4 separate regions of the Homo sapiens genome follow, and regions 1, 2 and 4 are each linked to region 3. Evidence: promoter capture Hi-C in 16 types of primary human blood cells and fetal thymus (Javierre and others, 2016). All regions are on one chromosome and are shown on one strand. Each heading gives the region's core, a stretch centred on a gene start or on the middle of the fragment in contact. The rest is flanking DNA. Distances are from core to core; before and after follow the strand shown.

The links. Contacts are between HindIII fragments. The CHiCAGO score rates a contact against its expected background, and 5 or more counts as called.
Region 1: a fragment that was not itself captured here is called in contact with the fragment with the promoter of RNF6 in region 3 in 1 of 17 cell types (naive CD8 T cells); the score reaches 5.6 in naive CD8 T cells.
Region 2: a fragment that was not itself captured here is called in contact with the fragment with the promoter of RNF6 in region 3 in 1 of 17 cell types (neutrophils); the score reaches 5.2 in neutrophils.
Region 4: a contact is called between the fragment with the promoter of MTIF3 here and the fragment with the promoter of RNF6 in region 3, in 6 of 17 cell types (total CD4 T cells, non-activated CD4 T cells, activated CD4 T cells and 3 more). The highest score is 9.4, in total CD4 T cells.

The regions. Positions count from the first base shown.
Region 1 is chr13:27,261,109-27,268,929 of GRCh38, reverse strand. No RefSeq gene overlaps it. Among named protein-coding and RNA genes, the nearest start is that of RASL11A, 5.8 kb to the left of the region's middle. The HindIII fragment of the contact is 1,117 bases long and covers 1,967-3,083 here.
Region 2 is chr13:27,243,242-27,250,475 of GRCh38, reverse strand. No RefSeq gene overlaps it. Among named protein-coding and RNA genes, the nearest start is that of RPL21, 4.7 kb to the left of the region's middle. The HindIII fragment of the contact is 1,725 bases long and covers 1,533-3,257 here.
Region 3 is chr13:26,220,132-26,227,963 of GRCh38, reverse strand. RNF6 (ring finger protein 6) reads left to right here and starts at 5,650. Exons shown (of 5, transcript NM_005977.4): 1 at 5,650-5,961; 2 at 6,634-6,716. RefSeq lists enhancers at 5,590-5,969, 5,115-5,996, 5,997-6,878 and a silencer at 6,420-6,469. The HindIII fragment of the contact is 7,611 bases long and covers 115-7,725 here.
Region 4 is chr13:27,448,198-27,455,529 of GRCh38, reverse strand. It overlaps MTIF3 (mitochondrial translational initiation factor 3), which reads left to right and starts at 4,966. Exons shown (of 5, transcript NM_152912.5): 1 at 4,966-5,021. RefSeq lists enhancers at 4,532-4,591, 4,612-4,971, 4,815-5,729. The HindIII fragment of the contact is 2,682 bases long and covers 4,141-6,822 here.

The DNA of each region.
Region 1 (7,821 bases), core at 1,276-3,775, 1.0 Mb before region 3:
CAAGTTCCATCATTTCTCCTCCTATATTTCTTGGTGTCTCCCTCTGTATCCCTACTGCTCTCATTTCTTTTTTTTTTTTTTTTTTTGAGACGGAGTCTCGCTCTGTCGCCCAGGCTGGAGTGCAGTGGCGCAATCTCGGCTCACTGCAAGCTCCGCCTCCCGGGTTCACGCCATTCTCCTGCCTCAGCCTCCCAAGTAGCTGGGACTACAGGCGCCCGCCACTACGCCCGGCTAATTTTTTGTATTTTTAGTAGAGACGGGGTTTCACCGTTTTAGCCGGGATGGTCTCGATCTCCTGACCTCGTGATCCGCCCGCCTCGGCCTCCCAAAGTGCTGGGATTACAGGCGTGAGCCACCGCGCCCGGCCTCATTTCTTATCTGCAGAATTCTGAATAATCCTGAAGTAAACTAATCTAGACTAGATGGTGACTTCAGTTTACATGTTCCTCCCTTGGAGAAGCCGTCTCTGATCACTGCCACTGTCCCCACCCCTATCTTGCAGTTACTCACTCTCAGGGCACTGATCTCAACTATCATTACTTTCTGGTGGAATATTTGTTTCATGTCTGTCTCCAGGAGGACAGGGACTCTAGCTTGTGACTCTAGTACCCAGCACATAGTGGCACCTGGGACTGGCAAGGTCCTTAATAAATGTTTGTTCACTGGCTGACTTTCCAAATGAATGAATGAATGCTGTCTTCAGTGTATGAACTGGAAAATACAGAAGTCATGTTTCTGACCATTTTCCCATTGCCTTGGTTTTGAGAGCAGCTTGCTCTCAGGAAGACGTGTGCTGGGAGATGTCCTGAGATAAACTGCCATATTTAAGTTGTACTGACTTTTGACTGTTCATAAGGCAATTTTCTCTGTTAAACTGCAGTTTAATTGAAAAGACTTGAAGCAAGGCACCTTCCTCCCTGATGGGGGAAAAGGCACCATAAAGACAATGACTGTCTAGGGAACAACTGGAAGCTGTTAAGTTCCAGGGTCACGTGCAGCTCCGTGATGGGGGTCTGGGCTGTTGTCTCTGATTCCTTTTGACTTCTCCTTTATGGATGCAGGGTGGCTCCTGCAGCATCAAGTCCTTACCCAAACAGGAAGGGAAGGAAGTACTCTCTTAGTTGTTCTCTTTATGAAATAAAGCAGTTCTCACAAGAACTCAGCAGACTCTCTCTTACATCTCACTGGCCAGAACAGAGAAACTGGGAAAGAGATTACTCAAGTATCTAGCAAAGAAGACTGGGATGGCCATGACTAGTTTAGACAATCATGATTCCTCCCTCTAGCTGGACATACCACCACCCCCATCCAAAATCAAGAACTCACAGAGAGAATGACTGCCAAGGAGATCTGCCATAAACCCTATTCACCTTCCTGGAGTGAAAATCCAGCACTTTCAAGGGAAAAGAGTCCTTTCTTGGTGGAATGCTGAGTATCTCTGTCTCTCCTCACCTCCTTCTCTGTTTTACATTCCCAGTCTGGAATAAGACCATTGTAGCTTAAGGTCAGCCAATAAGGAAGATTCCTAAGACTGTTCTCTGCCCAGTGATAATTATGTTCCACTTTGCATTTACATTGCACCTTTGCTCAGAAGAGCTCAACATGTTATTTCATTCTCCTTGGAAAAGCTCTTTGCATTTATAAATATACAAAATAATCCATGACCTTCTAGTGAAGACAGTAAGTGACTGAACTGTAGAATTATAAATAGCCTTGCCTAAATTGTTGCTGCTTGTGTTCTGCCATTTCCTTTTAAATTTGTGTCCAGAGTTATGTAAAACTATGGTGCAACCAATATAACAGGCGTGCTGAAGTGGTTTTAAAAAGATAATAGAAATGCGTAGGCATGGATACAGATATACAAATCTGTGGGTGTTTAGAATGAGCATAAAGGCCAGAGTTTGGTAATATGCAAATAATAGCACACTTGGGAAGTTATTAACTCTTTCCCAGTCAAATAAAAGCTTGAATTCTAGTCATCAGGCAAAATTTTGCCAAGGGTCCTCCTCTTGTTCACAAACAACTCCCCCACCCCAGCCATAACCCAACATCAACTCCCTCTCCTGTATATCCTAAGTCCTTGACTATTGAGTTTACCGGAGCCTCAGAGCCCCTGCCTTTGAGGTGCTCTCCCTAAACAGGAATCATGGCTCTGCCCTCTACCAGCTCCCTATTTTACTTCAACTCAGCAGGCACAATTACTGAAAATTGACTCTGTGAGGCTCTGTGATAAGTGCTTGCGCAGAACATAAAGAGCAGCGAACATTTACTAAGACAGCAAAGTATAACACACTCCTGCCTGCCTTCACAGACATCCCTGTAGTGAAGAAATTTATCAAATTCACTATCATTTATAAATTACTGTTGAGTTTACCAAGAAAATTCTCAAATATTATCTTAATTTTTAATTAATCCTGTGAAACAGGTAAAGAATATCCTCTAAATTGTGGTTTAGACAAATTGAGTAACTTATCCAGTCACAGAGCCATATAGTGGTGCAGGCCTCAAGCCCTCTGAGTTTTAATCTTGGCACATTCCACGGGTATGGAGGGCAGGGTGCAGAGCCGGGCACTGTGGCTCCCACCTGTAATCCAGCACTTTGGGAGGCCAAGGCAGGAGGATTGCTTGAAGCCAGTGTTCAACCCTGTCTCTACAAAAAAAGAAAAAAGAAGGAAATAAAAGAAAAGAAGGAGGGAGGGAGGGGAGGGGAGGAAGGAAGGGAGGGAGGGAGGGAGGAAGGAAAGGGGAAGGGAGGGGAGGGGAGGGGAGCAGAGGGGAAAGAAAAATTCGCCAGGCATGGTGGTGCATGCCTGTTGTCCCAGGTACTCAAGATGATGTGGTGGGAAAATTGCTTGAGCCCAAATCAAGGATGCAGTGAGCTGTGATCATACCACTGCACTCCAGCGTGGGCCAGAACAAGACCCTGCCTCAAAAAATTCAAAATTCAAAAAAAAAATACAAAATAAAGAAAGCAGGTTGTAGAACACTGTGTTGGTAATGGAAGGCCAGAGCAGGTCAGGATGCAAACTCCAACAGAGCTGCCACAGGGAGAGTTAGGTCTGATCCAAGTATCAGGGAAAGCTTCAGCATGAGCTGGGCTGCAGGTGAGTCAGGTGTGATCGGTGGAAACCAGGGGAGGGCGAAGGCCTGTCAAATTGAGGGAACAGCATGCGCAAAATCATGGAGGTACATGACAAGTGTGAGGAATTCTGAGTAGTCTCAACAGTGAGAAGGGTGTGGTAAGTGACCCAAAAGGCTGGGGGCCAGACTGTGAATGGCATGCTAAAAAGTTTATCCAGAGGCTATGGAAAGCCATTAATCATTTCTTGAGGAGAAGAGCTCCTTCTACAGTTGTTTCTCGGGTTATCTGTAGGGCTTTAGTTCCAGGACACACTGAGAATACCAAAATCCAGGGATGCTTAAGTCCCTGATATAAAAAGAGTGTTGTATTTTCATATAACCTATGCACATCCTTCCTACTTTATTTTTTGAGATGGAGTCTCACTCTGTTGCTCAGACTGGACTGCAGTGGTGTGATCTCGGCTCACTGCAACCTCCACCTCCCGGGTTCGAGCAATTCTCCCGCCTCAGCCTCCTGGGTAGCTGGGATTATAGGCGTGTGCCACCATACCCGGCTAATTTTTGTATTTTTAGTAGAGACTGGGTCTCACCATGTTGGCCAGGCTGCTCTCGAACTCCTGACCTCAAATGATCCACCCACCTTGGCCTCCCAAAGTGCTGGGACGATGGGCGTGAGCCACTGCGCCCGGCCCTTCCTTCCTACTTTAAATCATCTCTAGATTACTTATAATACCTAATACAATGTAAATGCTATGTAAATAGTTATACTGTATTGCTTAGGGAATGACAAGCAAAAAGTTTGTACATGTTCAGAACAGATGCAATTTTTTGTCCCAATATTTTCCATCCCAGCTTGGTTGAGTTCATGGATGCAGAACTCACAGATACAGACACAAAGAGCAGACTGTACATACAACAGTATGAGTACTAGGAGCTTACAAATAATAGGATATGGGCCTGGTGTGGTGACTCATGCCTGTAATCCCAGCATTTTGGGAGACCGAGGTGAGAGGAACCCTTGAGCCCAGGAGTTCAAGGCTGCAGTGAACTGTGATTGTGCCACTGCACTCCAGCCTGGGTGACCCTGTCTCAAAAAATAAAAACAAAACAAAATGATATGGTCTCTGACCTCAAAGATCTTAAAACTGTTTACTTACTCATCTCCCATGAGCAATTAATTTAATCTGAACCTCTCTTCCTTCTTAGGTGGAACCAAAAAAATCCAATCATCTTCACTTGAGCTAAGCCATCATCTCATTTTACAGAGACAGTAAAGAGTACCCCATTTATTTTCCAACCCAAATGATTTCCATAAATCCAAGTCTTGCTGGAGAAGTGTGTACGACAGCATTTGTGTGCCTCTTCCATTAGTGGCTTTGTGTGGTGGCCTGTCAGCAGCTCCTCGCCACACACGGCTGTTTGAAAAGAATCACAGTGCAGAGCCTCGGCTGCTTATTCACTCCTCTGTGCACATTTTCCACCTCAGCAACAGCAGCTGCAGCTGCTGCCTCACTGTTATTATTCATAACCTAGCAACTGGTCGAACAGATTCTGTGGAGAAGGATTTTTGCTATCAATTTTTTTCTAAGTGGAGCTGGGGTGAAGAAACATGCTATAAACACTCATTCCAAATAAATCCAACCCAGTTTTAAATCCTTTGTCTTGTGCACAAAAAAAGAGTAAGATAAACCTACCTTGTTCATATTTTAGCAATTCTTTATATTTTAGCAAATTTTCCATCCTAGTACAGAGAAAATGCTACTACAGGAGTGGGAATATGGAAGAGACAAGAACCTGAGTGTGTGTTTCTGCCACAACATTCAGAAGAAAACTTCAAAAAACAGTGTGATATATTTTATCTAACCCTTTGGGACTGGTTTCAACTGAATAAAAATAGAAGGCCTTAGAAAATACCTGGCTAGATCAGAACAGACTTCAGTTCAAAGTTCAAGGAACCACACAGCCTCACTTACAATCATGGCTATTACTTAAAAATAGGGTGAAAAAATTTATAGTTAGGATATTTTTCTTCATTTTCACTGACAAGTGTAAGAAGGGAAATTGGACAGTAAGAGGTTAATTTATAAATTCACAATCTGTGGTGGTTGCTCAGGACCTGCATTTCAAGGCAGACATGTAATCAGCACACACACACATTACTCAAAGTTCGGAGGTTCCAATTTAATTATCTCCCCACTTATAAAACCTAATCTGCAGGACATCCAGATGGAGCTGCCCAAGAGGAAGATGGAACTACAGATATGGGGCTTCAGAGAATGTGAGCTCTGCAACTGAGCCTCAAGTATCAGAGAAGGCTAAAGACGTAGACCAGTGGTTCTCAAAATTGAGCATGCATCTTATTCACTCAGAGAGCTTGTTAAATAGAGTGCTGGGCCCCATCCCCAGTATTTCAGATTTGGAGGGTCTTGGGCAAGTCTGCATTTTTTTTTTTTTTTTTTTTTTGAGACGGAGTCTCGCTCTGTCGCCCAGGCTGGAGTGCAGTGGCACAATCTTGGCTCGCTGCAAGCTCCGCCTCCCGGGTTCACGCCATTCTCCTGCCTCAGCCTCCCGAGTAGCTGGGACTACAGGCGCCTGCCACCACACCCGGCTAATTTTTTGTATTTTTTAGTAGAGACGGGGTTTCACTGTGTTAGCCAGGATGGTCTCGATCTCCCGACCTCGTGATCCGCCCACCTCAGCCTCCCAAAGTGCTGGATTACAGGCGTAAGCCACCGCGCCCTGGCCAGGTCTGCATTTTTAACAAGATCTCAGATGATGCTGATGCTGCCAGCTGGGAGATCATACTTTAAGAACCTCTGGCTTAGATAACCCAGGAATAATTTATAAAGGAGAGAGAGACAAATGTGGAACATCTAGGAGGGGCCAGAATGAGGCTAGAAGGGGGTCAGATAGGGAGAAGAAACAGTAAAGTATGATGGCAGAACCCTCTGCAAGAGAAAGCATTTGTTGGCTGTGTCAATTATTATGTGGATAAAATTAAATTGGAAAAAAGTATCTACATTTGTTAATTAGCAAGCTTTTCGTAACCTTTAAGAGTACAGTTTCATCAGTGGTGGAGGCGGAAGCCAGATTTGCAGTGGGCGACCAGGAAATTTAGCTATGAAAGGGAGGAGGAAGGCACAACAGGAAGGGCTGCTTGGTTTATTTGCTGGTTTTTGCAAGCCTGCAGGCTGAAGTCAAAAAAGCAGCAAGTTGGGCTGGGCGTGGTGGCTCACGCCTGTAATTCCAAAACTCTGGGAGGCCGAGGCGAGCAGATCACCTGAGGTCAGGAGTTCGAGACCAGTCTGGCCAACATGGCAAAACCCCATCTCTACTAAAAATACAAAAAAATTAGCTGGGTGTGATGGAGGGCACCTGTAATCCCAGCTACTCGGGAGGCTGAGGCAGAATTTCTTGAACCCAGGAGGCGGAGGTTGCAGTGAGCCAAGATCACGCCACTGCATAGACCAGGATAATCAGTGAAACAAGAGGGCAGAGGCAAGAGCCCTGTCAATACCAACTCTTTCCTCTTTTACCCTCCTTGATACCTTGTTTTATGAAGGGATTTAGGTCTTACTGTTCCTCCTATACTGTCACCTCCTTAATAAGGCTTTATGATGTGTCTTTTTTCCCTTCATTCCACAGTAGAGTAGGTACCAGTAAACATCCCCTTACTGGCCAGGTGCGCTGGCTCACGCCTATAAATCCCAACACTTTGGAAGGCCGAGGTGGGCAGATCACTTGAGCCCAGGTGTTCAAGATTAAGTCTGGGCAATATGGCGAAACCCCATCTCCACTAAAACACAAAAATTAGCCGGGCGTGGTGGCATGCTCCTATAGTCCCAGCTACTCAGGAGGCTGAAGCAAGAGGATCACTCGAGCCCAGGTATTCGAGGCTGCAGTGAGCCTTGATCGTGTCACTGCACTCCAGCCTGGGTGACGAGGGAGACACTGTGAAAGAAAAAAAATTCCCCTTGATAAAGATCTATAGATACAAGTTGATAAAAACTCAGACGACTAAACAAAACATATATTGTGTAATGATAAGTACTATAACTTATAATATAGAAAATGAATAAAGTCTGTATAGGATATTGAGATCTTGATAAAATTCGAGCAGAGGCTGACTAAAGGGGACAAATCATGGGGAAGGATGAAGGAAATGCATTCCTTCATAGCATAACACGCTCCTTCAAAAGCATTCCTTCATATTTTGTACTTCAACTTACTTACAAAAGCCCTCAGGCACGAATGCACTTGGCATATTAAAGGCACAGCGAGAAGGCTCATGAAATTGGATCTGACTTTGGGGCAGGAAGTGGTACAAGACTAGGTCGCAAAGGTAGCTATAGTACAGATAATGTAGGGTTTTGTAGGCCATGATAATCATCAGAATATAAATGGTATTCAAAGCCATGAGGCTAAATCTCACCTGAAGTATAAAGGTACTTCAATATTTGGAGGTCAGAAAGACAGAACCAGCAAAGACTGCAGATCAGGTAAAAGGAAACCAGGAGAGGGTTCCAGAAGCTAACTGAAGCCAAACTCAATAATAAGTATTTTCTCTCACCAAAGTAGCAAAGATTAAATTAAAATAATCAATGCTGATGAGAATGCTGTGAGACAAGCATGTTCCCTGGAAGGTGGAGTGCAAACTGGTATAACCCTTTGGTAAATCAATTCATCAGTGAATCAATAATTTGAAAAACACATATTCTTCAACCCAGTATTGTGCGAGAA
Region 2 (7,234 bases), core at 1,146-3,645, 1.0 Mb before region 3:
CCCAGCATCCAGTTTCCCCTATTATTAACATCTCATGCTAATATGGTACATTTGTTGCAATTAATGAACCAATATTTTACACTGTTATTAACTAAGGTTCACATTTTATTCAGATTTCCTTCGGTTTTACCTAATACCCTTTTTCTGTTCCAGGATTCCATCCAGAATACCACATTACATTTAGTTATGATGTCTCCTTATATGCCTCTTGTGGCTGTGGCAGTTTCTCAAACTTTCCTTACTTTTGGTGACCTTGAGAGTTTTGAGGAGTACTGGTCATGTATTTTGTAGGATGTCCTAATCATGGAATTTGTCTCATGTTTTTCTCATGATTGTATGTATTTTTAGGATGCATTTTTAAAAAGTCAGCTAAGTTAACAAAATCCCTTATCAGACTGAATATAAATAATATCGTCCAGTCGCTTTTGAAATTTGCATGTCTTCGACTCACTCTCCTGATGCACCTGAAAGTTGTAATTTCTAAGAACTGCGTCAGCACCATTTTTTAAATGTGTACATTCTGTGACCATCGTCATCAGCACTTAACATCATTTGCTGAAGAACTTGAGGAGGAATAGGATTTGGTATTGATTCCTTCAATACGTTGACTCCTCCAGACTTTCACTGTAACCATTAGCCCTTGGCTTCTAGATTGTCTTTAACTTAATTTTCTGTAGTTCATTATTACAGTCACTCTGTTAGCACTCACTTCCTCAGGTCACTTTTCCTTTCCCATTACTTTCTTTCTTTCTTTGAGAGGGAATTTTGTTCTTGTTGCCCAGGCTGGAGTGCAGTGGCGCGACATCGACTCACCACAACCTCTGCCTCCCGGGTTCAAGCGATTCTCTTGCCTCAGGCTCACGAGGAGTAGCTGGGATTACAGGCGCCCGCCACCACACCTGGCTGATTTTTTTGTTTTTAGTAGCGACGAGGTTTCACCATGTTGGCCAGGCTGGTCTCCAACTCCTGACCTCAGGTGATCCACCCGCCTCCACCTCCCAAAGTGCTGGGATTATAGGCGTGAGCCACCGCGCCTGGCCCCCATCACTTTCTTAGCACATACCGAACCTTGGATAAATGCAACCGTGACAGTACCTCCACAGCTGAGCACCGTTGAAGAAAATCTTGTAATCTGGTGTGATGACAAATCAGAAACTAGTCATCCATGCACTATATTTTTTTGCACTTGGAAATATTTTTTTGAGCCCATAGAGTGTTTTAAAAATTAACATATCAAAAAAAAAAGATTTCTGGCTTCCCTTGAGAAATCAGGAGATCTGGCAGCATAGAGCTGATAGTCTTGATGGCCACTCCACTGGCTTCCCCTTTAGATGGGGCATTCATTCTTGAGTTCCTTCATCACTCAGCCTGCTTCAGTCATTTACCTGCCTGGCTCCTGTTGGCATTTGTGTTTTTAGCCTCTCCCATAAATTCACGACCAACCCTTAACAAATGGGTACTGTACTGTTTAGCATCCCCACTACAGTTCCCCAGTTAATTTGCTTACCTGCTGTCAAAAAAAAAATTAAGCTTTTACATAATTAAAGTTAGTTTTATTCAGAAGTCTCACTGAGGACTGTAGACCAAGGTTTATACCCTGAGGGCAGTTCTTTCACAGGGCTCCAAAGTGGTCCCTCAGCCCATTGCTTCTATGTAGGTTGTGGGGGTTCTGTATGTGTGAAATCTCATTAAAGTTTGGGTGTAAGAGTACATCAGTTTATAGATTACTAAAGTAATTTGGTTATAGATTGTAGAAGCATAATCACTAACCCTGTCAGACATCTTCATGTAGGAAAAGGCAAGGTCAAGTTCATTTACTGTTTCAGGAACGTTGTAACTCAGGCGAGTGACACGGGGGGCCGTGTGCTCTATCCTGTTTTAAGATTCTTCCTGAGGAGCTGCATTTCATCACAGTCAGGGGTTCAAGCAGAAATAAGCAAACCTGGCTTAACATTTTCTATTTTGTCTCACATTATTCTATTTAAAGATTATTTCATGTCATTTCTTTGATTATCAAACCTTCCTTTCTCCCACCTTTCTTTCAGCTGATGACTGCCTCTTTTTTTGAGACTCTCTTAGTCCCCAGGCTGGAGTGCAGTGGCATGATCTCGGCTCACTGCAACCTCCACCTCCTGGGTTCAAGCAATTCTCATGCCTCAGCCTCCCAAGTAGCTGGGATTATAGGCGTGTGCCACCACACCCGGCTAATTTTATTATTTTTGGTAGAAACAGGGTTTCGCCATGTTGGCCAGGCTGGTCTTGGACTCCTGACCTCAAGTGATCCACCTGTCTCAGCCTCTCAAAGTGCTGGGATTACAGGTGTGAGCCACCACGCCCAGCCAACTGCCTCATTTTTATCAGTGTACAAACATGCTCCCAGCCAACTCCATCATTTTTATCCATGTACAAACAGGCTCTGGTGTTCCCCACTAAAACCCGCAACTCTCTTCTTTCTGATTCTGCTTGATCTCATATTCCTTTATAACTACTGCCCCATATGTTCATTTTTCTTCTGTCAAATGTAAAAAAAAAGGAGTCATGAAATTTTTGGTTTTGTACATCAAAAATTGTGAAAGTTCAGCAGTGTCATACAGTTTAATACATAAACACTATTATCTCTTCCTCATCTTTCATTCAGCTTCAGTTTCATTTGACTTCTGTTCTAGTCATGTCATTAAAGCTGCTCTTGTCAGGGCATCAACTGCTTATATGTTGCCAAAGCCAAAAGACATTCCCTGTTCTTTCCTTTCTTGATCTCCGCAAAGCACTGGACTCTGTTGGCCAGCTCTTCCTCCATGAAACACTACCCTTCCTCACCACTCCACAGTCTGATTTGCTGATTTTCCCTCCTCTCCCTGTCCTATAAAGACTACATTTCCCTGGGTCTTGGAGCTAGGCCCCTGCTCTTCTCTTTCTGTACTGCCTTCCTGGTTAATTCCATTTACTCCTATAATTTTAAATTTCATCTCTGTGTTGCTTACTACCAGATTGATTTATGTGATTCCAGCCTTTCCTCAAGATTGCTATTCAACTTGATATCTATTCTTGGATACTCTTTAGCATCTCAACATGTCCAAATCTTTTATTTTTCTTTTCTTTTTTTTTAACTGCTCCTTGTGGAGCAGGGCTATCCCATAGGCAGCGTGCCTAGAGTAGCCAAAATTAATTGTATGTGGGTACTCTACTGTTTAACATCCCCACTACAGTTCCCCAGTTAATTTGCTTACCTTCTGTCAACTTAAAAAAAAAATCAAGCTTTTACATAATTAGTTTTATTTAGAAGTCTCACTGAGGACTATAGACCAACGTTTATACCCTTGGTATAACCTTATGGGATGTGTTGTAAGTTTTTATGGGATGTTTTTAAGTTTTAGATATACTTTTTTTTTTTTTCTTTTGGAGACAGGGTCTTGCTCTCTTGCCCAGGCTGGAGTGCAGGAACATGATCATGGCTCACTGCAGCCTCAACCTCCTGGGCTCAAGCCATCCTCCTGCCTCAGCCACTGATGTAGCTGGCATCACAGGCATGCACCACCACACCTGGCTAATTTGTAAAAATTCTTTTGTAGATATGGAGTCTCCTTTTGTTGCCCAGGCTGGCCTTGAACTCCTGAGCTCAGGCAATCCTCCCACATTGGCATCCCAAAGAGCTGGGATTGCAGGCGTGAACCCCTATGCCTAGCTCATAAAACTTTTTATTTTCTGCCAGATGCAGTGGCTCACACCTGTAATCCCAGCAGTTTGGGAGGCCGGGGCAGGCAGAGTGCTTGAGCACAGGAGTTCGAGACCAGTCTGGGCAAGATGGTGAAACCCTGTCTCTACAAAAATACAAAAATTAGCAGGGTGTGATGGTATGCGCCCATAGTCCCAGCTGCTTGCGGGGCTGAAGCAGGAGAATCACTTGGGCCCAGAGGTTGAGGCTACAGTGAGCTGTGTTCATGCCACTGCACTCCAGCTGGAGCGACAAAGTGAAACTTTGTCTCAAACAAGAAAACAACAACAAAAAAACTTGATTTTTACCCTGAAGCCTGTTTCTGCTCCAATATTTTCCATTCAGTACATAGCATAATCAAGAAACCTTGGTTTTGCCTTTAAGTTTCCCTTTATCCCTTCCGTATGGAATCCATTGGAAAGTTTTGTTCCAGTTCTGATTGTAAAATATTAATATATTAATGTATCTCCAGCTGACCTACCTCTTCCCATCTCTGTGGCCACGCCACTAATACGTCTTATTCTGAACTACAGCAATGGCATCTTTATGGTCACTTTTTTTTCCTCTCTTGCCCCTGTTCTATCCATTTCCTATATAGTGGCCAGGGTGATCTTTTAAAAATATAAACCTGATTATATCACACCCTTGCTTACAGCCCTCCACAGGCTTTCTGTTGCTCTTAGAATAAAATCTAAATTCCTTACCTTGTCTTACAAAGTCCTGTATAAACTAGATCGTGCTTATCTTTTCAGATTCCTGTCTCCCTCACTTTCTTGTGTCTCTCTCTGCCTTCTTCAATTCCGTAAATACTTCAAGTTTTTTCTAGTCTTGGGATCGTTATGCATGCTGTTCCCTTTGTTCTTCAGTAGCTTGATCTTTCTCATCTTCTTGATTCCCGAAAGAGGCTTCCTAAGAGAAGTGATGCCCAAGACATTAAAACATGAATGGGCGTTAGATGAAGACAAAAGAGCATTCCATCGTAGAAGACAATGTAGCATGTGACGGTGAGTACAAGCAGTGTGGTGTTGCCCATGCAAGACAAGAGTGATGGGAAATAAAGCCAAAAGGCAGATGGTGAAGGTTCTTACCAAGGTGCCAAAGAATGCTGAATCGAGCCTGTGAGGCTGGAAGCAAAATGGAGTCAGCTATGCTAGACTTCTCTCACTTTCTTTTTTTTTTTTTTTTTTTTTTTGAGATGGAGTCTCACTTTGTTGCCTAGGCTGGAGTGCAGTGGCACAATCTTGGCTCACTGCAGCCTCTGCCTCCTGGGTTCAAGCAGTTCTCCTGCCTCAGCTTCCCGAGTAGCTGGAACTACAGGCGTGCACCGTCACGTCCTTCTAATCTTTATGTATTTTTAGTAGAGACAGGGTTTCACCATGTTGGCCAGGATAGTCTTGACATCCTGACCTCATGATCCACCCGCCTCGGCCTCCCAAAGTGCTGGGACTACAAGCATGAGCCATCACCCCTGGCCTGACTTCTGTCACTTTCATAATCTTTGTAAAGGTGGTTTCAACCTCATGTCACATACCTTAGGGGTAAAATCAGTCTTGGACACTAAACCTCTCAAAGGTTTTGGTGAAGATGTGTGTTTTCACAAGTTTATCAAATATGGAGTTCTTAGCACTAGTATTCTGATTGAAGATCTCCCCAATTGGAATAACTTACACATTACTGGAGGACTCCAAAAACTGGTGAAAATTACAGCAATGAATGAGAATGTCACTCTCACAGATCAGCCCTCGATAGAATTCTGGAGTGCTGTGACCACTGTTTTCCTCATGCTCCCTGAAAGCTTTTCTGAAGGAAACCTCTCTACAGAGATTGCCGGACTGTCCTATTTAGATTAGTATGATTGGTGCCCAAATGTTCTGCAAGGAGGAGATTTGTTATTTGAAGACTCTGCAGATAGCCTGTCCTCACTCAGCACTGGAGTGGCAGCAGTCTTAGTTGTAAATTACATCACCTCATGCATGGTTCCTGTGTTAACTCTGTGATTTGCTTTCCTACCTCCCAGGTCTCCTTTCCACATGTCTACACTTATTGTACCAGGGTAATTTTGTTTTTAATATTTATCTTGAAACAATTTCAAACTTACAGAAAAGTTTCAAGAATATTACAGAAGACCCCTGTATGCCCTTTCTCTGCATTCACTGATTGTAACATTTCACCACATTTGTTTTCTCATTCTCTCTGTATCAGTGGTTTTCAAAGTTTAGCATGTATCTGAACGACCAGGAAGGCTAAGGTTAAAACACAGACTCCTGGCCCCCACCCCAGACAGGTGATTTAGTAGGTTTGAGTTGAGCCCAAGAATTCGTATTGCTAACAAGTTCCCAGGTGACACTGCTGCTCCTCCAGGGATCCCACTTTGAGAACCACTGTTTTCTCCATCTATGTAAACACACTGTATATGTTTTTTTCTAAATTGTTTGAGAGTGGGTCACACATATCTTTTCCTCTTTAGGCCATATACTGTACTGATTTGTGTCTCCTAAGAATGAGGACATTCTCTCATATAACCACAGTACATTTATCAAATTCAGGAAACAAAACTGATACAATGCTTATATCAATTTTTTTTTTTTTTTTTTTTTTTGGACAGAGTCTTGCTTTATGGCCCAGGCTGGAGTGCAGTGGCATGATCCTAGCTCACTACAGTCTCCACCTCCTAGGCTCAAGCCATCCTCCCACCTCAGCCTCCCAAGTAACTAGGACCACAGGTGCCACCACACCCAGCTAATTTTTTAATTTCTTATAGCGAGGGGGTTTCACCATGTGGCCCAGGCTGGTCTTGAACTTCTGAGCTCAAGTGATCTGTCTGCCACAGCCTCCTAAAGTGTTGGGATTGCAGGCTCCTGGCTGGTATCACATTTACAATCCACATTTCAAATGTCAGTTGTCCCAATAATGTCCTTTATGGCATTTTTTTTTTACATGATCCAGTCAGAAATCATATGTTGTATTTATTAATAGTCGCTGTGTCTCTCTTAGCTTTTAATCTGAAGCACTTCAGCCTTTTCTTGCCTTAGGTGACATTCATGTTTCTCTAGTCTGCAGGTCAGTAATATTTGCCCTGGTATAAGCAGCGTTTTCTCCCTTATGTGCCATCTGTTTGCACGAAGATCACGCAAATATCTTGCTTCTAAACAAACTTTCCCTCCTGGATTAAGTATTCATCGTGATTCTTGCAATTTTTACTGTGATGGTTACAAAGCGGTGATTTTCCAGCTCCACTTCTACTTCCACATTAAGGAAAGGGTTTCCTTTTTTCCCTATTCATTTATTTTATTCGTTCATTTACATGTCTAAATGTTAACCTCTTTTCCCTTTCCCTCTAAACCAATTGTGTTCCTCAGGGATGTCAGAGTCTCCTTTAAAGGACAAGGTGGAAAGTGAGAGGGTAGAGCCCAGGCCCCTCACCCTTGCTGCTCCCCGAGGAGTGCCACATTTATCTGCTTCCTATAGTAAGGTTCATTTACAAAACAAGCGGTCTGCTACTTTTTTAAAAGTTTGAAAACC
Region 3 (7,832 bases), core at 4,401-6,900:
GAGACCCCCATGTCAACTGCTACTGTTGTACCAACGCCTCTCCCTAAACTCATAGCTATGGCCGCAGGGGAGTTCCCCATGAACAGTTGACAATGAAAGAAAAAAATCCAAGCTTGGATCTTAGATGGTCAGCTGGGTGTGGATGCAAGCTGGAAATACCTGCTGCAGCACTGCTGCCCCACTCAGGGGTGGTTCTGAAAGAGATGAAAGGGGAAGCATAACATTTGGCAGAGCTTCAAGCAGTGCATTTAGTCATCGACTTTGGACATAGAAGTATGTTGCCCATATACAAATGTTAGCTTCGCTTGTTGGTCAAGGGCCTGGAAGAAGGAAGATTGGGAAAGGCTGGAGAATAGGCAGGTAAATACACTTATGGGAGAGGGCACATAGTGTAAGGACCTTTTAGTACATAATGCCCATTAGAAAGTTTCCACTGCAGAAGAGGCATCAACCAACTGTGTAGACAGGATGTCTAGGCCAGCAGATATCAGGCAGCCTCTGTCTATGGCCACCCCAGTTCTCGCACAAGGGGCCCATAGAGGGAGTAGCCATGGTAGCAGAGGTGGAGGCTATGCATGGGCCCAACAGCTTGGACTCTCTCCAAAGCTGATAAAACTACTTCTGCTATTGAATGTCTGACCTGTTTGCAGCAGAGACCAACACTGAGTGCTCAAGAATGCCAAACAGCTACCGGGTGGCAAGTTGATTACAATGGATCCTTCCAGCCTGGAAAGAGTCCCATTTCATCATGACTGGGTTTGACATATATTCCCAGTACAGGTTTGCTTTTCCTGCCTGCAGTGCTTCAGCCAGTACCACTACTGAAGGACTTACAGAATGTCAGACAGTCTGACACAGGATCTCACATAACACTGCCTCAGACCAAGGGTCTCACTTTCCAGCAAGAAGATACAGTGTTGGGCACCTGACCAGAGGATCCACTGGTCATACCACATACCATACCACTTGGAAGCTATCAAATTGATAGAGTGGAGCAATGGCCTATGGAAGGCATAGCTGAAATTCCACCTTGGAAATAACCCCTTGTGAGGCTGGAGCATTATCCTTCAGGATAATGCAAATATACACCTTAAACCAATGGCTGGTATATGGTGCTGTGTCCACAGTAGATAGAATACATGGATCCAGTGATCAAGGGATAATCAGGTCCTATACTCAGAGGTGGGATGCTTTCATCATAGGACACAGTAAGAGTCCCACTAAACTGAAAGCTATGGCTGCTCTCTGATCACTGTGGGCTCTTAATGTTGGAAGACCTGCAAGCAAACCATCAGAACAAGGTGGAGGCTGATGCTACATAATTAGACCAGAGAGGAATGCACTGGGTACTCAGGAGATCCAATGGGGGCATTTCTTGGTATTCCTGTGCCTAGTTGTAACTGTAAATGAATAAGTACAGCCACCGTAGCCTGGTAAAAGCATGATAATCAGGGTCTGAACCCCTCAGGGATGAGTGCCTGGTTCAATCCATCAGTCAAGCCACCTGCACCAGCAGAAGTGCTAGCTGAGGTGGAGGGGAATCTAGAAAGGGTAGTGCAGGAGGGAGATAATGAGTATCAGTTATGGCCTTGGAACCAGCTGCAGCAACAGGGGCTGTAGTTTGTCCCAATACCCTTGTCTTTTAAAAATTTCCCAGAAATTGGGATTAGAAACTGCTCAGATGGAGAAATTTCACATGAGAAGCAAAAGATCTCAGCAATACAAAGCGTGGACCATAGTGAACGTTTTTTGTTTCCTGCCCAAATCCACTCTATAAGCTCATGCATCTGTACTCCAGCTGCTGGGAGTATTGGATAACAATTTCAGCTGCCTTCTTCTCTAGAGAATTTCCCTTGGCTAAAACAGGAGCCACCTCACGCATGAGGTTCTGCTGCAATCCTGCCCCTGAAGATCTCACCCAATGAGGGACAGGCATGTACGTACAAAGAGCTGGCCAACAAGGCCACTTGGTGGTGAATTTCACGGGATCAGTGGAGGCTCATTCTTGTTTCCTTGTCCTCCTGGCCAATCCTGCTTCCTCTATCCCCTTCTCCAGAGTGCACCGTCCTAATAAAACACTTCAATAACAATCCTTGTCTCAGGCTTCGTTTCTAGATAACCTGATCCAAGACCATCTCTGGCCTAATTAAGACCCTGGTTATCAGGAGTATCCTTGAGGGTTGTTTTTATATGCAGAAAAGGACTATTCCGAAGTTTCTCTTGAGGAATGAAATACTGAGACATGCTACAACATGATGACCCTTGAAAACATTATGCTAAGTGAAAGAAACCAGACACAAAAGACCACATGACGTAGAATACCATTTGTTTGAAATGCTCAGAATAGGCAAATCCAGAGACAGAAAGTACATTAGTAATTGCCAGGGGCTGGGAATAGGGTGGAGTAGGAATGAGAGTAATTGTTAATAGGTATAGGGTTTCCTCTGGGGAGATGAACCTGTTTTACAATTAGATTGTGGTGAATGCTGCGCAAGTCTGATTATACTAAAAACCACTGGATTGTATACCTTAAATGGGCAAATTTTATGGTATGTGAATTATATCTCAATAAGGCTGTTAAAAGAGCTATAAGGAAATAAAGAACATATTATTTAAAAAATCTTTGTCTTAAACAGTTAATATTCAACTTATTAGTTCCAAATTCAATGTCCTAGTTACAACTTAGGTTTTTACGTTTGGTTTACAGCTCTTATTATTCTAGTGGTAAGCATAGTAAATCTTTCTGTTTTTGTTTTTTTTGAGATGGAGTCTCGCTCTGTTACCAGGCTGGAGTGCAGTGGCACAATCTCAGCTCACTGCAACCTCCGCCTCCCAAGTTCAAGCGATTCTCCTGCCTCAGCCTCCCAAGTAGCTGGGACTACAGGTGTGCGCCACCACACCCAGCTAATTTTTGTAATTTTAGTAGAGATGGGGTTTCACCATGTTGGCCAGGATGGTCTCAATCTCTTGACCTCATGATCTGCCCGCCTTGGCCTCCCAAAGTGCTGGGATTACAGGTGTGAGCAGCTGTGCCTGGTCAAGTATAGTAAATCTTAACAGTCATTTGGAATTAGCCCTTCACTAACTTTCAATCTCATTCATATACATATTTAATATCTTCAAACCAACATTTTAAACTGTATTTATACATTTAATATTTTATCTCATTCACAAGTACTTCAAATGTTACATGTAATTTCGTCTTTAAATCTTATATAATAATTTTTAAACTAATAATAAAACAATATGGGGAGCCTATATTTCTCTTTGCTGCTCTGATGCCATCCATAAACTTAGCAAGATTTCAACTTCAACTTAAAACTTGAAATCGAGTGCTCCATTTTGTTTTAAATTGTAATTAAGGCTGTCGTTTTATGAAGCCAAAATCTTTTAAACATGACAAGTACATAATTTACCAGATATACAGAGAATCCTTTTAATGTTATGGTTTTAATTATTTTAGATCTTTGTATTCCTAATTGTAAAAAGTCCAGGAGTTACATGAGGCATACACACTACAAAGGCCAGGTACCAATCCAATAAACAGAAATTAATTAGACCAGAGACCTTGGCAGGTTCTGAGACCTGGAGTAGATATCCAGAATGATTCATCTGTCTGTTCCAGCTGTTGTATCTAAGCCCCTCTTTGTAGTCATTTTGTCTTGGACTACAAAAACTGAAGCAAGGTGTTGGATTCAAGTTACATACATTACCTGATTCTCTACTCACAAAAACCTGCAACTTCCTACCTGGTAAATCACTTGATTGGATTTTTATTTAGACATTTTTATAATAGTTTTTTTTTTATTCTTAGGGTATATAATAGGAAATAGGAAAAATAGGAAGAGACACATATGTCTTTTCCACTCAACATGTAAAAAGTATTTGCACTTGGATTATTGCATTTGATTGCACTCTCCAAAATTCACAGATATTAAAAATGATTTCTACTTGTTATTTTCTATGATGTGTGTTCACAATATCTGAAGTCGTTGTACTGTGTGCATTAATCCCGTTTGCCAAAAGATTGCATTTTTCTCTGCTCATCTATGCAGTAGGCTGAGGAGAATGTTCTGCCAAGTGCTGTGCTAAGTTCTGGGATTACAAAAATGAATTAGACCATTTGATCACACTTAAGCAGTTCAGACTCTAGGTAGTAAAGACCTAAAAACAGAAAATCATCTTAAGTATTTGCTCAATGGCTCTTTTTCCATGGGAAAAGAGGGCAAGGACTTCATTCTATGAGGACATGACTGTCTGATTCACGGCTGTCATCACCAGCACCTAATACATAGTCACACTCACTATTTGTTAAATACATGAATACATGCTAAAATAGGGTTTTATATATAGAGGGAGTATGGGAGCCCCCAAAAGGGACATTTGCTTAGTTTTATGTGTAAATATCGGGCTGGAGGGTGAGGTAAGGGTGTTATTTCAGAGGTATCAGGAAAAATTCCTTAAAGATGAGAACTGAGCTGAGTTTTGGGAGACAGAGGAAATTAGGTAAAAGTGGAGTTGGGGGTTGCTTAGGAGTTCCCATATCTTGTGGCGGAACTTCAAGCAGTTTCGGAGTGCCAAGACAACAGCCTGTAAATGTAAGCAGAAGAAAGATCTGGAAGGGCTTTCTAGGCTGTTTTATATATTTCCATTTTAGTATCCATATCCATATGCTTATTTTAAACACTTGTCCATAGATCCTTACTACACTGGTAGCTCATTGATGCTAAGGACTGCATGTAGCTTGTTATCCAGGTGCCCAGCATAATAATGGGGATATGGTAGTTCCTCAAAAGTTAATGCAGAAATGAAAGAACAAACGGAAGAATAACAAGTAACGGCATTGTGAGCACTCTCCAGTGATGAAGTCATCAGATGGTAGGGATGTCAGGAAAGGGGACTATACCAGGTTAGACAGAGACCTACTCAGCATCTTAACTAACGGTGAGGTAAGTTTAGTAAGCCTCACATCTCAGAAATAAAATCAGAGGGAGGAATGTTGGGAGTTTCAAACTGCTTTCCTAGCGGGAAGGTGAAAAAACACAAAATATAGTGGGGTGCGGTGCCTCATGCCTGTAATCCCATTTTGCTGAGGTGAGAGGATTGCTTGAGGCCGAGTACGAAACCAGCCTGGGCAACATAGCGAGACCCCCGTCTCTACAAAAGAAAAAATGTGAAATTAATGGCAAGCGCCTGTAGTTCCAGCTACTGGGATGAGGAGGGAGGATCGCTGGAGGCTGCAGTGAGCTACGATCGCTCTAGCCTGGGCGACAGGATGAGACCTTGTCTCAAATAGAGATAGACAGACAGACAGACTTCAGAATTTATTAGGGTTTGTAATTTCCAGGTTCCAAAGCACAGCAAGGGAAAGGGCCTGGCTGGGTAGTACGTTACACCCGGAAGTAAAGAGACGCATACACCGTTGGGTGCACTTTATAGTCTGGCTGGCAAACGAGCGACACCGACGCGCAGAGTTAAGTGCTGGGACTTCCCAAGCCTGGAAAGCAGACCGTGTCTCTGCAACTACGCGGCTGCCACGAGCGCTGAGCGGCCGGGCATTTGGCCTCGAGGAGGAGGCACTGTAAGGGCGGCGCAAGAGGGCGGAACGCGGGACGCCAGGCACCCTAGCTCCCGACGGACGCAGTTTTCAGTTGCACGGGCGAGCTCCGGGCCGGCTGCGGAGCGACTCCCCGCCGCCAAGTGGGCGGCGTGGCTGTCGGGAAAGAAGGGCTGGGGCCTGCCGTTCTTCCTCCCGAGTATCCCCTCCAGCTGGACGACCCCACGCTGCAGCACGGGCTTCCGGCTTCTCTCCTCAGTGGCCAATTCGAGGGCACAGCGGGCTCCGGAGGCGCGGCGGCAAGCCTATCCCGCCTCCCAACCACAGCCTCCAGCACCCGAGAGAACGGCCGCCCACAGCACACGTTCTCCGGACAGGAGGGCGAAGGCCCAAGACCTGGAGAGGTGGGCTCGAGGGAAAGATCTGGGTCCCACCACTACTTCCTGGAGACGCCGGGGAAAGCAGGCCATCCTTCGAGCCACCCATCTCTTCTCCGATTGGTTAACTGCCTTCTTATTGCGCTCCGCTGGCTGGTGATTGGTTGGGATGCACCGTCTATCACCTGCTTCCTTGTGAGAATCTAGGTCTCTAAGGGAAGCGTTACTTGAGGCTCGGTTGGGAAGAGGTTGGTTGGGCCTCTTGAGCCCACTTTATTTATCGTAGTGGGGATCGTCCCCCGGCGCGAGCTTCCGTCGCAACGGCCGGGAAAGAAACCAGTAGCGGGACGGAGGGCGGGGGTGGCAAGAAAGTCAAGGTTTAGAAGTAAGCCGGAGACGCCTAACCCTGGTAACATCCGAATGGGAACGGGATAGGAAGGAAGGCCTTTGAGAGAGGAGGCGTAAACCCAGGAACAGTGACAGTGTAGGACGAAAGGCCTAAGTTTGTTGCGGAAGGTAGGGGCCTTGCGGGAGGTTTTCGTGACCTAATTGTATGGGGATCTAATTTTCTAGATGTGTCTAACAAAATCCACTGGAGAATTTGCTTTGGCTTTGCAGCAGAGTGGGGAGACTACCACCCGTTCCTGGCCTTTAAAGAAACAGTTTATTGAATTATTCAACTCTCTTTTATTGCTTCAGATGGGCAGCTCTCAAAAAAGGCACAAACAATTGAAGGATGGATACCATGGCATATGTTAAAAGCGTGTTGAAAGGAAAATAAGGTATTCGCTTTGTTTTCATTGTGATTAACTGTATAAGAAAATTACCTTTAAGGAGAAGCTCAAGTTTTAAATAATATTAGGGTAACTTGATTTTATGATAGGCTTCAACTTGTAAAATTATTTATTACAAAAATCCTATTATTGCTGTACCTACGAAATATGCTCTTTGCTAATTATGGTCTTAATCTGAAGATAGAGATCTTGAGTTTTTAGTAGTGTTAATTCATATTTGAGTGGATAATGTTACTAGGTCATTTGTTCAAAATGACATAATAAAATAACCACAGTGAAAAAAATCCTTGAATTTGTAATTTAGTGTTACAGGTGAAATTGAATAGTTGCTTACTCCAACAGTATTTTAGACTTGTAGGCTAATTTCACCTTATATTTAAAGCAGCTTGCTTATTAAATACCTAGTGTATTTCGAGAGGCAGAGTTGCACAGTTGCTTCACTGGTAGCCTAGCCATTTGAGCCTCCAGCCTCTACTGAGTCAGGTGCTGTATTACTCATACCCTTTAGTGACATGCCAGAAATTGTCGAGGAATAGTTTATTTCATCTGCAGAACACCCAAATTAGCTCTTAACAGCAGACCTGGTCCTACCCTGGAAAACTCTAATCAAGGATTGGGGATGAGATTTGGGCATCTAGATTTTTAAAAATACCCTTAAGTGAGTTTGAGAACCATTGCTTTAGTGTGACTTACTGAATAGATGTATTTAAGAAATTCTAAAATATTTGTGAAACAAACATCTTTCTCTCTTGATTTCCATGTAATTTAAAAGTGAGCTTCTCAGGAGTGACACTTAAATATAATCCAAAAATAGTGGTTTCTTAGGCAAAGTCAGGAAGTTTCACTGGCATTCTGAAACTCCTGGGACTAACCATTCCAGGCTTAAGGATGAGGCTTGATATGGGGTGATACAAAGTGCTCTGATGCACTTTCACAATCCTTGAGCCATACATGATGTCTTGTTTCCTGTTGGGTTTCAAAGTCTTCCTGGTAAGCTTTAATAAGAGACCACCTTCCAGTTTGTTCAGTAGATATTAATTAGGCTAAATGATTTTCACCTCATCAAAGTGCAGTGGGGGATAATATTACATTCATGAGCCTTAT
Region 4 (7,332 bases), core at 3,717-6,216, 1.2 Mb before region 3:
AAAACTAAGAGCTTTCACTTTCACTTTGGTAAGGTCATGGATGTGTCCTAGGCTGCTAACAAAGCAGGCTTTAAAAATCTTTGCAGCAGAACCTAGCAACTTGCAAGGTGAAAAAGCAGCAAAACAATGACTCCAATGTACAGTTGAAAGTCTACTTCCCTATACAGTAAACATCTGAAATTCCACATTTGAGGAACTTTCAAAAATGGAATAATTTGCCTTTAATTCCATTTGCCTCAAAGATGGGAAACTGTGAGAGCACAAATTTATTTTATCACAAACATTCTATTTGCTGTCAGTCCTCCCCTCCTTAAACAGCCTTGTAACTACGTCTCACATAGGTGTTTAAAAATAGTATAGGGTTGCATTCTTTTTTTTTTTTGTTTTGAGATGGAGTCTCCCTCTGTCATCCAGGCTGGAGTGCAGTGGCGCAATCTTGGCTCACTGCAACCTCCGCCTCCCTGGTTCAAGGGATTCTCCTGCCTCCGCCTCTCAAGTAGCTGGGACTACAGGCACACACCACCATGCCCAGCTAATCTTTTTTCTTTTTTTTTTTTTTTTTTGTATTTTTAGTAGAGATGGGGTTTCGTCATGTTGGCCACGCTGGTCTTGAACTCCTGACCTCATGATCTGCTTGCCTCGGTCTCCCAAAGTCCTGGGGTTACAGGCATGAGACACTGTGCCCGGCTGGGTTGCATTCTAAATGTAAAATGCTAACTAATCATTTGGTACTGTTTTGCTTTATCTACACAACAGTCAGCATGGTACACTTTGTACTAGCTCTTTGTTGTTCTGCATGATGTCCTATGATGGTAATAGAAATTATTTTCATTGTTTCAAAACGATCAAAGTTAACTGAATCACCTCAAAACTCAACACCTCTGAAATGGAAAGACATGTCTCTGTTGTGTTCCAAATGAAACTTCTGAACCTATTTTCTGCTTCTGCAGTTGCACAAGAGACTTTTCACAGAAGTGGATCTTCCATATACAAATATTTTTATTTGGCAGATATGAAAGTTTTTAAAACTTTATTACAATATGTCATTCATTTTAGACATTTTGCTGATTCACAACCACCACGTTTTAATAACTGAGGCCATCATATTCTGACAAGAGAAATGATTAATCTGGAGTCTAATGTTATGGGAAATCTCACTCATGGTAAGGAAATTTATTTTGAATCTAGCAAATAGTTTGAGAGCACACAAAGGGTTATAACACAGATGTGGTCACCAGATGTTCTCCAGCTCTACTGCAGAACCAGACTAAGTAGCAACATGATGGATTTAGGTTATGTAAAGGAAAAGACTCCCGTCTTATAAAACATTGAAATGAGAAGCTAAATCTCCTGGCCTCGAGTTTTGTTTTGGCTTGTTTTAAATATAGAGATGTTTTACATGTTTGGAATGGATTAATTATAGTCCTGCCTGAGGAAAATGGTAGAGATTTCATAAGAAGGCTTTCGGCTTTAATAGTTTCTAACAGACAATAATAGACACACAATATTGGGCTGACAGTATCTTCAGGAAGCTTTGAACGAGTTACCTAACACTCAGCCAAAGCCTCTTGCATGCCTTGTTTCTATGACTCTTGACAAGTCTGTAAACATCAACTAAGGAGAGCATGGACCCTTTTGGCTATTAAACTGGCCTTGTAATGACAGAGTTGCTGCTGTTTAAGATAACTGCTCTCAGCTACATTTAGTTGGCACTACATAGGATCTCACACATAATAGACTTAAATTCCCCCAATTTTAGCAAAACTGCCCAGGTAAGAGTTTATAATCTGGAGAGGGAGGAGTATCTAATCTATGAACAATTATTTGTTAAAGAATATGCTGAATATCTGAACCCACATGGGCTTTAAAGTTTGAAGATGCTTCGTATCTTCAAAATAAACCCAAGATTTTGACTGGGCATGGTGGCTCATGCCTGTAATCCCAGCACTTTTTGGGGCCGAGGCAGGTGGATTACCTGAGGTCAGGAGTTCGAGACCAGCCTGGCCAACATGGTGAAATCCCGTCTGTACTAAAAATATAAAAACTAGCCAGGCGTGGTAGTGGGTGCCTATAATCCCAGCTACTTGGGAGGCTGAGGCAGGAGAACTGCTTGAATCCAGGAGGCGGAGGTTGCAGAGCCGACACGGTGCCACTGCACTCCAGCCTCGGCAGCAGAGTGAGACTCCGTCTCAAAAAACAAACAAACAAAACAAAAAAACAACCACCACCAGGATTTTTATTAGTATTAGATTTTTAAATGAATTGTTAGTCATTGTGGCATTATAAAGACGCAGCCCAGTGTTCATAACTTTTTAAAGAAATCACCCACAGACTGATTCTTTTGTGGATCAGATATGTTGTACCTCAATGACCTTGGGCTAAGCAAGTAAATCTCACATACAATCCTGTTTTGGAAGGTCCCCTCGGCGTTGGGGAAAAGTGGGAGGACTTGGAAAGCTAACAGGCAAAGAGAGGGACGGGATATTTCCATTATTCCTTCATCAGAGCAAATCACCAATATATTCATTGAAAGAGAAAGTTCATGGGCATGCTATGGAAATTAACGTAGAAATTACTATGTAATAGAAAATATAGGCATTTTTAGAGTCACCATGATTTGAGTCTTATTGAGTTACATTTTTTGAGGGGGTTAAATTATATGTAGAAACGATAACAATTGGGAAAGCTCTACACATGTCTCAGAGTCCTCTTCTATGTACATAACGGAGTAGTTTATTAAAGATCTGTGGCATAGTAATAGCATTTCCCCAAACCTCTTCATCTTTATTCAAGGATCTTCAAAGTCTGCCCCCACCAAGCACAGCTCAAGGCTCTCAATGACTCTTTAAAAGCTTCCAAGTGGCCGGGCGTGGTGGCTCACACCCGTAATCCTACCACTTTGGGAGGCCGAGTGGGGTGGATCACCTGAGGTCAGGAGTTCGAGATCAGACTGGCCAATATGGTGAAACCCCGTCTCTACTAAAAATACAAAAATTAGCCCGACCCAGTGGCACGCGCCTATAATCCCAGCTACTCGGGAGGCTGAGGCAGGAGAATCGCTTGAACCCGCGAGGTGGAGGTTGCAGTGAGCCGAGATCGCGCCACTGCACTCCAGCCTGGGCGACACAGAGAGACTCCATCTCCAAAAACAAAACAAAACAAAACAAAACAAAAAAACAAAAAACCCCACAAAAGCTGCCAAGCTCCATTTCGGCTGGAGGTCAAAGAAGAGTTCAAGGGAAAAGATGAAAAAAATGGCTTCTCTCCATCTGTGGGCATGTCTGTAATTGCCACCCCATCTCTGCATGTCTCCTCCCAGGAACACTAAAGCACCATCTTCTAGGCGTGGAGACATCTGACAATGGAAGTCTAGAAAGCTTCCTAAACCACCTGCTCTGGACACAGCTGCCTTCAAAGACGGACTGCAAATGGATGCTGGCCGGTAGCTTCAGTTACCAGTGATTACTTGGTGTGAATCTACCTGTGCTATTACCTTAGCAAATTTTAAGTCTTTAGTTTGGGCATTAAATGTTTCAGTTACTTGTACATACTTCACATCCTTTTAATGTTTTCATGGACTCGTACTGTTTACTGTTTCTCTCACTACTTCAGTCTAGCAATGCAAGGAACATTTAAAGTTTGCCTGGGTTTGGGGTTTTTTGGCTTTTTTATTCTTGATTCTGCTACTAGTTGTGCGACCTTGGGCAAATTTGTTTCAGTTCCCTCATCTGTAAAATGGGTAATAATAATAATTGGCTCATAAGGTTGTCCTGAAGATTGAATAACTTGAGATATGTTCAGTGCGTAGAACAGTGTCTGGCACATAGGCAAAAGCAATCACAAATGTGGGCAATTATAATTGCTGAGCACCTAACTTTTCCCAGGTATTGTGCTACTCAGTCTGTCCCCGAATCTACGTCACACAAAATATCTTGGCATTGAGAAATAATTTTGATAGAATAAAATGAATCCTTAATTCTTCTTGATTAACTTGGAAATGGCCAAGATGCACACCTGGACTTTCGGTCTCACACAAGAGTTGTTTCATTACCTCCCTATTTTAACAGTGAGCGTCGAGCTACCAGCAGCTAAAAAGGAAATGGAGATTTCGTCTTTGCTCCCAAAGAACTATTTAAAGCTTTAGTAGTTGTGTCATCTGTAATAAAAGACGTAATGCTGACTCAAGGAGTTAATGAGAAATAAGACAACGCCTTCCAGTGGACAAGTAGCCAATAAATGTTAGTTTTTCTTCGTACCAGGAATCCAAACATTCCAGGTATGAAGCCAGATTAGGTGGCTTCACGACTGTGGACTCGCAGTCTGCCCTTGAGGAATTTCTTATTGAAGAAGAAAAAGAGGGGGGACACGGGGCCCAGACCCCCAGCACCCGGCTTTCGAGCAGGCTCCACGGGTCCGGGTCCGGGTCCGTTTTCCCTTTCGCCAGCTGGGGCCCCGTTCGAACCTCTCCCAACTACAACGCGGAGGCTCCGACGCCCCGGCCCCAGCTTTGTTTTGCCTCCGGGAGCCGCGCGCCACCGGGGACCCGCGGGGAGCCGTTCTCACTCCGAAGCTGTCTGCTCACCTGCAAATCGGAGACAGCGCCCTTTCACTTACGATCCTTATAAAAGACGCTTATAAAACATTTTATTCAGTGTTACATTAAAAAGACGTTTATGAAAGCAATTTATAAAGCCCTAGTGGGAGACCGAGATTGGTGTTAATGTAACTGGAGTAAGGGCTGCTCCGATTGCTGCAGAAATTCGACATTAGCCTTCACCGCACCTGCGGAGCAGCGGGAGCCAGGTGAGCAGCAATTTCCCCTCAGGGACTTCCTCCGCGTTCTCCGCATTTTCTGTCGGCGGAACTGAATCCCAACAGTAGAAAAACGTGGCTCCGCCCATCACCTTTCCTTTAAAGGACGCGGGGTGAAGCCCCGCCCACTACGGAGAGCGAAGGGGACTCGCCGCAGATCCGCTGTACTTGCGTCCGCTACAGTATGTCAATCGCTTGCCCCAGCACAGGTAATGCTAAATATGAGGCGTGCGGAGCGGTGCGCGGACCGGCATCGGGAGGGCGTGGCCTTAGGGGGCGCCCCTGTGGAGGAGGCACCCGGAAGGTCAGGGCTACCCCGTCCCGCCGGTACCGAGGGCGGAGAGGCTCCGCAGGTCCTGCTGCGGAGTCGGAGGGTTCTGCCGGGCTGTAAAGCCATTTTCAGCGAGGCCGCTGCACGAACTTCCGAGGGATGTTAGACCTAGAGTTGCCGCCAGCCCCACTGAGCTTTTCTAGTTCCGTCCCGACATGCGCGCCCTCGTTTGTGCGCACGCACGCACGCAGTACGTCGCTACGTCCCGTCTCTAGCCCTGGCGCTCCGCCGGTCCCGTTCTGCAGGTGGGCGTCGCCGCCGACTTACCAACAACCGGGTCGGGGGCTCCCGGAAGTGCTCTTGCGGCTTACTGCCTGGCACAGGTGGGGCAGAGCGAGCCAGGCGAAGGGCGCCTGCGCAGGACATGCTGGACAAATGCGTTGTTCTTGCTGCCTGCTGTTGCGGGAGGAGGCCTTATGGGGGAAGGTCGCGAAGTGACTGGGATTTTTTTTCTCATTTGTCATTTAGTGGGCTCCGTGGCTTAAGACTTGAACCAAGTAAACGAAGTTCTCTTACTGAGAAGTCTCAGTTTCAAGTACGTGTTGTGAAAGGCCTAAGTCTTAGAAAAGTAGAGGATGGAGAGAAGAATCTGAAAATCGACTACTATTCATTCTGTCAGGCACAACACAGTAACGAATAAGTCCATTTTGTTCCTGCTTCGTAGAGTTTACGGTCTAGTGATGGAGAACAGCAGTGCTAAGATCATCACAAAACTGTAATTGTAATGAATGTTTTAAAGGAAAGGTCAACTGGACTGTAGAAGCATTCAGTGTTAAGCTCAGTAAATTGGGGGAGGGATGGGAGAACTGGCTTAGTTTGGAAGGTAATCAGAAGAATGCGCTAAGGATCTGGCGTTTCCTAAACCAAGGACGAGAGTACTGTATTTCAAAAACCGAATGGCCAGTGTGGCCTAGGCATAAAGAAGAAACTGGAGAGGTGGGAAGGGCCTTTTGGCCTGGCGAAGGTGTAGATCTTTAATCTCGGGGCAGTTTTATTTAAGGTGAGGAAGGTCCTGGGTGTAGTGACCGCAGTGCAGTGGGAACTGGTTGCCAGGGCTCAAGCCGAGTTAGGAGACTGGCAGGAATCCAAACGAGGTGGTCGATGTTTTAAACTGACGGTGGTGACAGTGGATACGGAGAGGACTGGATGGATTCGAGTGGGGTTTAGGAAATGAAGTCGATGAGGCTTGGTGTTGGGTTGACTGGGAAAGTGGAGGCGTCAAAGGTGTCTTGGAGGTGACTGGAGGTTGTGGATGGGTAGTGATCCCATCACTAGAGTTCTGGAAGAAGACTAACATAGGATTAACATAGGAGAATAAGTTAAAAAAAAATTTTTTTTGAGAGTCTCACCCTGTTGCCTAGGCTGGATGCTTAGGCTGGAGTGCGGTGCACGATCTCAGCTCATTGCAACCTCTGCTTCCCGGGTTCAAGTGATTCTCCTGCCTCAGCCTCCCAAGTAGCTGGGAATACAGGCTCACGCCACCAGGCCCGGCTAGTTTTTTTGTATTTTTAGTAGAGATGGGGTTTCACCATGTCGGCCAGGCTGGTCTTGAACTTCTGACCTCAAGTGATCTGCCTTCCTCAGCCTCCCCAAAGTGCTGGGATTACAGGCGTGAGCCACCGTGCCCGGCCGTAAGTCCAGTTTTTAATACAGAGTCTTTAGCTCTGGGTTTAAAAGCTTTTTAAAACATATGGTTATTATTTCAATTTAATAGCTAAAGAAATAAGGTTAAATAGTTGGCCAAAGATATAATGTTGGCTTTTTCCAGTGTTCTAAATGGGAGTTCTAGCACGTAAACAGCTCAGCCTCATTATGGAGAGTACACTTTGTGCTCCCTATGGAAGAGCAAAACCAGAGCCAAGGGAGGGGAGCATGAAGGCCCAGTAACGGTAGCGCAGGCCCTCTGGGATTAAGGCTGCACTGCTCAGGCCAGAATGGGGCAACTGGGACAGTTTGCAGGCAGAAGCAAGGACTTTATGAAACTTCTTTGGAAGGTGTAAAAGAGTTCTTAGAGTCATGAGAATTGGCAAAATTAATTTCACAAATATTTAGTCCGCTAGAATCTATGCAACTTTGATCCAATCTCCCAGGAAAGAACAGATAACAGTATGAGCTTGTGAATATCAGCTGTATGAGAAAAGCAGTGAGTGAACAAATAATAGAAGTTATTTTCGTCTCTTCAGTCCACA